Linked DNA regions of Homo sapiens: all the other regions are linked to region 2. Evidence: promoter capture Hi-C in human tissues and cell types (Jung and others, 2019). All regions are on one chromosome and are shown on one strand. Each heading gives the region's core, a stretch centred on a gene start or on the middle of the fragment in contact. The rest is flanking DNA. Distances are from core to core; before and after follow the strand shown.

Evidence for each region. Contacts are between HindIII fragments. The study calls those that stand out against the background at their distance.
Region 1: a fragment that was not itself captured here is called in contact with the fragment with the promoter of OR2M7 in region 2 in 3 of the 25 tissues and cell types used here (neural progenitor cells, ovary and stomach).
Region 3: a contact is called between a fragment that was not itself captured here and the fragment with the promoter of OR2M7 in region 2, in 3 of the 25 tissues and cell types used here (aorta, heart left ventricle and thymus).

The regions. Positions count from the first base shown.
Region 1 is chr1:248,277,974-248,280,673 of GRCh38, forward strand. It overlaps OR2T33 (olfactory receptor family 2 subfamily T member 33), which reads right to left and starts at 3. Exons shown (of 2, transcript NM_001004695.2): 1 at 1-3. The HindIII fragment of the contact is 7,061 bases long and covers 1-2,700 here.
Region 2 is chr1:248,323,208-248,325,907 of GRCh38, forward strand. It overlaps OR2M7 (olfactory receptor family 2 subfamily M member 7), which reads right to left and starts at 1,361. Exons shown (of 1, transcript NM_001004691.1): 1 at 423-1,361. The coding sequence starts at 1,361. The coding sequence ends at 423. The HindIII fragment of the contact is 10,500 bases long and covers 1-2,700 here.
Region 3 is chr1:248,356,913-248,359,612 of GRCh38, forward strand. No RefSeq gene overlaps it. Among named protein-coding and RNA genes, the nearest start is that of OR2T4, 3.4 kb to the right of the region's middle. The HindIII fragment of the contact is 5,419 bases long and covers 1-2,700 here.

The DNA.
Region 1 (2,700 bases), core at 1-2,500, 45 kb before region 2:
AAATCACCTTTGGCAAGGGAATACAGATTTCAGTATTTCCTAAGGGTGAATATATGTAGTGAACTAATTTAGCATCCAAGTTTTGGTAAAAGCAAAACGACTGTGATTGGGAAGATGAACAGATATGTCCCTGGCTAAGGATAGCAAGTGCAATGAATTAGTAAAGACAAAATCCAGAATTCTGATCATTGACAATCCCTGAACTGAATAAATATGACTTAATTACCTGAAATAAGTTTTTAATTTTCTGTAATTGTATCATGATAATAATAATATATTTCATTTATTGAACATTTCTACATGCTAGTGAATATGCTCGGCATTTTACATGCATTTACATGCGTGTTATTTAATCTTTTAATTAGCTGTTTGTTCTGTGAACTTCTACATTAATATAGCAATGTAAACAATGCTAACGGTTTTAAATACCATATTTATATTAACTGTCATGAGGTAGCAGAGTGAAAGAACTTTGATGTTCACATCATAGATTTGTGGTTCTTAAAGGTTGAGGAACATCTGAATCATTCAGAATACTTATGGATTACACTTTGAGAAATACTGCCTTTTATAAAAAAATCTGAAGGGGAATTTCAACTATTTTGAACTGGGTCACAATGCTTTGATAGCCTATAAACTAATCAATTCCCAACTTTGCATGTTTAAATGTTTAAATGTTTTTGTGTTTTGTTTTGAATCTAGCTTCTATTCCTTACCCATTTCATGATTTTTGGATAACATGATCTTCATGTTCCTTTCCTATAAAAGATGCATAATAAAATTGCTTGCTTTGTAGCATTATTGAAAGGAATAAATAAAATACTTGTAAACCACCTGGGAGACTATCTGGCCCATAGTATATTCTCTATCCATGTTCATTGATATCATTATTGTGATTGTTCTGAAAGAAAAAAAAATCCCTCTAAGGCAGAGTAATGTTGATTCTGGTCTAAATATTATAAAAACTTATCTAAAAGAAAATAAGATAAGGACAGGGTAGCCTGTTCTTTTGGTGTTTAATAGTTCTGCCCAAAGACTATTTAGTGCTCTGGGTGAATGCTTCTGTGTTTGATTTGCCATTTACCATAAATTACGGTCCAGAATCTGTGACGTTGTTATGTCAAGCAGACATGTAAAGAATTTCTGTCCGTGCCAAGTAAGACATAAACCAGTTTTATAATAATTGGAAACAAAACAAAAATAGCGAAACTTTTTTTTCTTTTGAAATCAAATTCACAGTGTCTTTTCCAATACTACTTCTCCAACTCTCACACCAACTAAGTGTCTTACTATTTAATTTAGTCCTGACACTTACTGCAGTCTGGAGCATCAGACTCCAGATGTCGCAGAAATCAATCCCACAAGACTGCCTTCCCTTCAGACGTCAGTCTCAAGTAGGGGGTATCCAGGTTACTTCTACCTGATTTGGATACAAAGTTGGAGGTTCTCACAACCACTCTGCTTCAGGTTATATAACTGGCTAGAATGAAGCATGAAAATAAAGAAAATGCTACACTCACTATTATAGTTTATTATAAGGGATACAAATGAAGAGTCAGATGAAGAGGTACATCTGGGAAGTTCCAGAAGAATCCCAAGCCCGCGAGCTCCTGTCTGTGGAGTTGGGGTCTGCAATCCTCTGGGCAAGTAAATGTGTTTGCCAACTCAGAAGCTCCCTGAACCCTTTCATTATGGGTTTTATGGTGGTTTCATTATATAGACATTAATGTGGCTATTGGTAATTGACTCAATCTACAGCCCCCACCTCCCCAGAAGTTGGGTAATGGGGCATGAGATGAAGCGGGGACCCCTCTTAGTGACCTGCAAGTTCCTCCAAGTACAGAGATAAAGGAAAAGCTTAAGTTCCTTCAGGGAAATTCCAGGCACCTAGCTAGTACTGAGAAATAAACAAGCAACTTCATAAGTAAGAAGGTAATAATTGCCTAATGCAATAGCCAAGGAAGTTAAAAATCACAGAATGTTTAGTTCCATTATAAAAACTAAAATAACATCTTTCCATATGTTCATGAGTTGTTTTTCAGAAACCTGGAACCCCACTAAATAGATCTACTGGCACATAGACCTCAGATAAGGAGGAACTGAGGACAGAACTCAGACCACCACTTTTTCTTCTGAATTTCTTCCTGAGAGGCCTGGAGGAAGTCACACCCATGGATGAGAGCTAAAATTCTTTTCTGCTGATTCCAATTTTTTAGACAAAACTTTGCCTCGTTAACCAATCACAAATCAGAAAATGTTTGACTCTACCTAAGATGTGTGGGCCCTGACTTTGAGATGTCCCATATTTTCAGGTTAAGCCCATATATAATGTCAATATACTGATTTATGACTTTGCCTGTAACCTCTGTCTCCCTGCCTTTAAAAACTTACCTGTAAGCCATCCATCAGAGAGTTCAGATCTTAAGCATTAGCTGCCCACTTCTCCTTGCTTGGCCCCCTGTAATAAATTCCTCCTTTTCTTTTGCGGCAATCTGCATGTCGGCATTTGACTTTGCTGTATCAGGCAGGCTGACTTGAGTTTCGTTTGGTAACATCTCTGTGGACTTGGGGTGTGCCACTCTCAGGGTATGTAAATGTGTTTGCTGACACAGAAGCTCCCTGAACCCTTTCGTTTAGTATGTTTTTTAATTTCTAGTTTTTGGGGTATATGTGCAAATTTGTCATACAGGTAAATTGTAG
Region 2 (2,700 bases), core at 111-2,610:
ACCAAGGCATAAAAATGATACACTGGACTTGGGGACTTGGAAGAAATGTTGGGGACTGGAGAGGGCTAAAAGACTACACATTAGGTACAGCGAACACTGCTTGGTTGATCGCTGCACTAAAATCTCAGAAATCACCATTAAAGAACTTATTAATGTAACCAAACACTATGTGTTTCCCAAAATGATAATGAAATTTAAAAATAAAAATGGAATGTCTTTATTGAAAATGCCTTATATTGTAGTCATAACTGAATTGAATATTAAAAAATCTAAAATAGTTTATCTGAAATAAATTATACTGGTACCCATCAATATGTTGAGCAATGCACACAATTAGTGATATTTTTAGGACTTAATAGAAAAAGAGAGACAATAAAAAGAAGACGTTAGCAGACAGCAAAACATGAAATTTATGAGGTAACTCAATCTCCAGACTTGCCCTTTCCTAAGATTTTCATTAATGCTCTGGTCACTTCCTTGTTGCGGAGGCTATAAATGAGAGGATTCAGCATGGGAGTGACGATGGTGTAGAATACAGACACCATCTTGTCCTGCATAGGAGAATGATGAGATGTGGGCTGAATGCACATGAACAAACCTGCTCCATAGTACATTCCCACCACCATGAGGTGAGAGGAACAAGTAGTAAAAGCTTTGCGACGTCCCTCTCCAGATCCCATGTGAATGACAGCCAGAATAACTCGAGCATAGGAAGTGATGATGATTGCAACAGGGAAAACAAGCATTACTATACAGCAGATGAAAATAACCTCTTCAAATATTGATGTGTCATTGCATGAGAGGATTAGTAGGGAAGGGAAGTCACAGCAGAAGTGGGCTATTTCCCGAGACCCACAGTAGGAGAAGGAAAATGTCGCTACAGCATCAATGATTCCATCTGTAGAGCCCAGGATCCAGGAGAAGGCAGTCATAAGTCCACAAATTTTGGGTCTCATGAGATTGGTGTATCTTAGAGGGTGGCAAATGGCAGTGTAGCGGTCATAAGACATAACAGCCAACAGAAAGCATTCGGAGCCAAGCAATGATATATAGAAGAAAATTTGTGTGGCACAGCCAGCCATAGAAATGGACTTGCTGCCAGACAAGTAGTTGAAGGCCATCTTGGGTACAGTGGTGCAGATGAGCATGAGGTCCATGAGGGACAGTTGGCTGAGGAGGAAGTACATGGGGGTGTGGAGCTGGGTATCCAGGTAGATGAGGAGAACCATGATGGAGTTTCCCATGAAGGCCACTGAAAAGATGGCCAGGACCAGAAAGAAGAGGAAGGTGTGGGTGGGGCTATGATTGAAGATTCCCAGGAGGAGGAAGTCAGAGTTGAAGGTCTGATTCTCCCATGCCATGATGAATATGCCTGTTACCTAGCACCGCAAAAACAGTTCATTAATTTGATAAACATTTACCCAGTGCCTTATAAAGCATGTGATTATGGTAAATTCTGTAGTTTGGTGATCAATACAGGATGGCCAGAATTATAAAACTCAAAGTTTAAGAATTATGGAATCATAAAGAAATATGTTCTCTCAGCAGTGTCTCACTTATAAAATTATGGAGCTTGTCCTAACTTTTCTTCTAAGCATTCTTTTTCTCCATTGAAAAATTACAATAACAATATCTACTACATGATCAATGGAGTTTTTCCAAAAAGAATATGTCTCCAAAGCAAACAGTTCCTAAAACATCAGAAGCCTGTTACAGGTAAATTGATAGAGAAATTCAGGTTCAGTCACCATGTGACCAACACAATACTAGAAATGGACAATAAATTTGTGCCTTTATTCACATGATAGTAGGCATTTTTCCTACCAGAGTTAAGAAAATGTGTATGTTTACCTATTACTTTACAGTTTAAAGTATTTTATCTATACTTTATAGTAAGTTTTCTATACAGTAAGTGGATTCACTGAAAAGATTTTCAATTATACAAATCTAAGACATATGCTCTTTTTTCTATAGCCCAGTGTGATGCATTGAATTATGTTTCTTCCCCAAAAGATAGCAAGTGAGCTTGTTTAGAAATACATAAAGGGTATAATTAGTTAAGGTGAGGTCAAGTTGGAGCAGAGTGGGTCTCTCTAATTCAATATGACTCATGTTCTGATAAGTGGGTGGCCATGTGAAGACTGAGACACTGAGGATACCATGTGATAGGGGAGGCAGGGATTGGAGTGGTGCATCTACAAATCAAGAAATGCCAAAAACTGTTAGTTATAACAGGAACCTGGGAGAGAGGAATGGGACAGATTCATCCTCTTAGAGCCCTCAGAAGTGTCCAACCCTGCTGACAACTTGATTTCAGATTTCTAGACTCCAAAACTATGAGAGAATAAATTTCTATTGTTTTAGGTAACCTGTTTGTGATTTCTCTGTACTGGCATTCGTAGGAAATTAATACATCCAATATATCCTATAGAAAATAAGTAGATATAAAAACAGAAATTAAGAAAAGCATGAGATTCATCCTTTCAACAACATTTATGAAGCCTGGCTATGTGTTGATCACTGGGGCTACCACAGTGACCAGAATAAAGAAAGCCCGTGTCCATACAGGTCATAGTGAGTGTGATCAGATGATGATTATAAAACACTTTATGTCATAAGAGGATAAACATTTTGGAGAAAAGTAAGTCAAAGAAGGGTGTTAGAAATGCACTAGTATGTTCACCTTTGAATAAAGTAGTC
Region 3 (2,700 bases), core at 103-2,602, 34 kb after region 2:
TTTGTACATAAGCTATTAAAAATGTCAAACAATTTATCACTTAGAAATTTGAACACAACCTAAATAACCACTATTTGGATTTTAATTGTGGTATAATTAATTTGATAGGATATCAATGTCTAGTCACATATATACACTTAACCTATTTTAAATAGAATAGATTTAATGTACAAAAGTGGTTACAGGGTGGCACAAAGGGCTGGAGGGAAGGCTGATGCAGCAAGGAGCCGAGTGTTATCACTCACAGACCAGGAGTTGTCACCAGTGGCGCCTCATATGCTCCTCAGTGCTGAGCTGATGGAGACCGCACGCCCAGGGCTGCTTGTGTGACTTTCCCATGCTGATATGCGGCAACTTAGATGCCCTGCATCCCCACAAATGCAGCTGAAACTGACTGTAAGCCCACAACTCCCTCAGGACCCCTGCTGCCTGCAGTTGCTGCTGCTGCCGCCACAGATCATCACCAGAAGCAGGAAATAAGACACAGTTTCCTTCTTTCTCCTGCTCTCCAGTGTTCCACCAGGGCCTGCCCTCTCATAGCCTTACAGGAAACCAGGTAGCACAGGAGTCAGGACAAGCTCTCTGCGGGCTGAAGCCCTAGAAGTCAGCGGAGACACCAGCCCTAAAGTGTGGGCCCAACAAACAGAAGACAGACACCATCTGGACAAACGTTTTCATGAAAAGACTTCCGTGACATGGTAACATGATCAACATCATTCTAGAACACACGCACAGAAAACGGTTCAGAAATACTTGTCTGCAAGATCCAAGAGGGTGGAGTTGCTTCCACCTAGTTACCTATTTTATTCCAACTGTCTGCTACATGGTGTACACTTCATAAATATTCATAGTATGAAGTCAAGACATGAATTTTAAAGTTTTGTTTCTATCTGAACTATTACATTATGGTTGATTTTTAAATTTTATTTGTACTAGACTGTGATTTTAGATTTTTTAGTCATATCAATATTTAAAATAAAAACAAACTTTAAAATTAAATGCATCACTAAAGTAACAGAGCTTGCAGGTGAATAACAGAAGAAAGAACATAACAAGCTAATGAAGAGTGATAGCAATGAAGATGTGAAAAAGACAACCTCAATTTTAGTATGGAGTTCATTACTGATCAGCGATACTCTCTTTGACACATCAACTGAACTCTGAGTTTCAAAGCCTATATTTGTGAAAGATTGGAACACAAATAGCAATATTTTATAAAAATTTCCTAAAGTTTAAAGGAGGAGGCACATACACATGAAAATATTGTGTAAAACACAAAAGGCCATATATAACTAACTCATATATCATAGGTAAAAATTCATTAGTAATGGCTAACTTTGAGATTATTGTTAATATTTGTTGAGATTTTCAGTTTAACAATAAAAGAAGATTAAATAACAACAACAAAACAGCTGGGCACAGTGGTGTGTGTCTGTAGTACCAGCTATTCAGGAGAGTGATGTGGAGGGGGTTCACTTGAGGCCAGGAGGTCGAGGCCTTTGTGCACTGTGATCTCACCTGTAAAAATCTACTGCACTCCAGCCTGGGCAACATAGTAAGATTCTGTCGCTTAAAAAAAAATGAGAAGAAAATCAGAAAAGGGCAACAGAGATATCTATTAGCTTCTTTAGCTCCTTTATTTGCATTCGTCTTCAAAACCCCAGAGAGGACTTATTAACAGAAAACTTTTATCTACACCCCTAATGGACACAGTGAAGCCAGGGATGATGTCACTTTTGTTTTTCTTTGCACACTTAAGCCAGCCACACACCATGAGCCCCTCCAAATGAGGGTCAAGACATCATCTGATGGTGAGTTACACCAGATAGGTAGACAGTATTGCAGGAACAAAAGATGGTCACGGTTCTTGACTTGTTCTGCTTTTGAAACATTTCTATTAGTTCTTGACTGTATTTCCTCATTTCCCTCTATCATCTATTTTTATGGAGAAAAGCCAATCTGTTTTATTTTTCCTTTGAGTCTCATTTTATATAATACTTATTTACTGCAACATATTAGTAAACGGGTTTTTCATTTCCAAAGTATTTATGGACAAAATCATATATATTCTTCCTCTGTTATTGAATGATACATTTGTTTTAGTGGGATGAAAATTTTGCAGAGGAAAAACAACTAATTTTTCTTTGAATGGAAATTAGGTCTTAGAGTTAGAAAACACTAGCAACAAATGTTTCAATCATATTTATGTTTCCCTGGTGAAACCAATAGTGAGTTATCTAAAACCCAAATTTTAGTCTACGGAAGCAGGACTGTGTCCCCAAGAGAACTGAGGTAAGTGACATGCTCTGGGTCCCGCACCTGCACCGATGTACTTACTCCATGGGGTTAGCTGTGTGATGTTAGATAGATACCCCAGAACTTGAACTTTTAAATCTGTAAATGGTGAAATTAGATTATATACCTCATAGGTTCTTGAGGAAAATTAAATGTGGTAAACTGGCATTAAGAACAATTCCTAGGATACTGTAAGCTTCACATAAATGCTCAATATTGCCCTACCACCACTATTAATTATTCCCTGGGTTAAACATGCATTGTGCTGTTTGGAAACTCAAGCAATGTGATCAAGAAAAATAAAAGAAAGAAAAAGTCCAGTTGTGCTGCATGCTGCAGTCACAGTTTTCCCTCACTGATCTGGTGTCCCAGGTCAGCTGTTCAGCGTGGCTTAATGACAGGGAC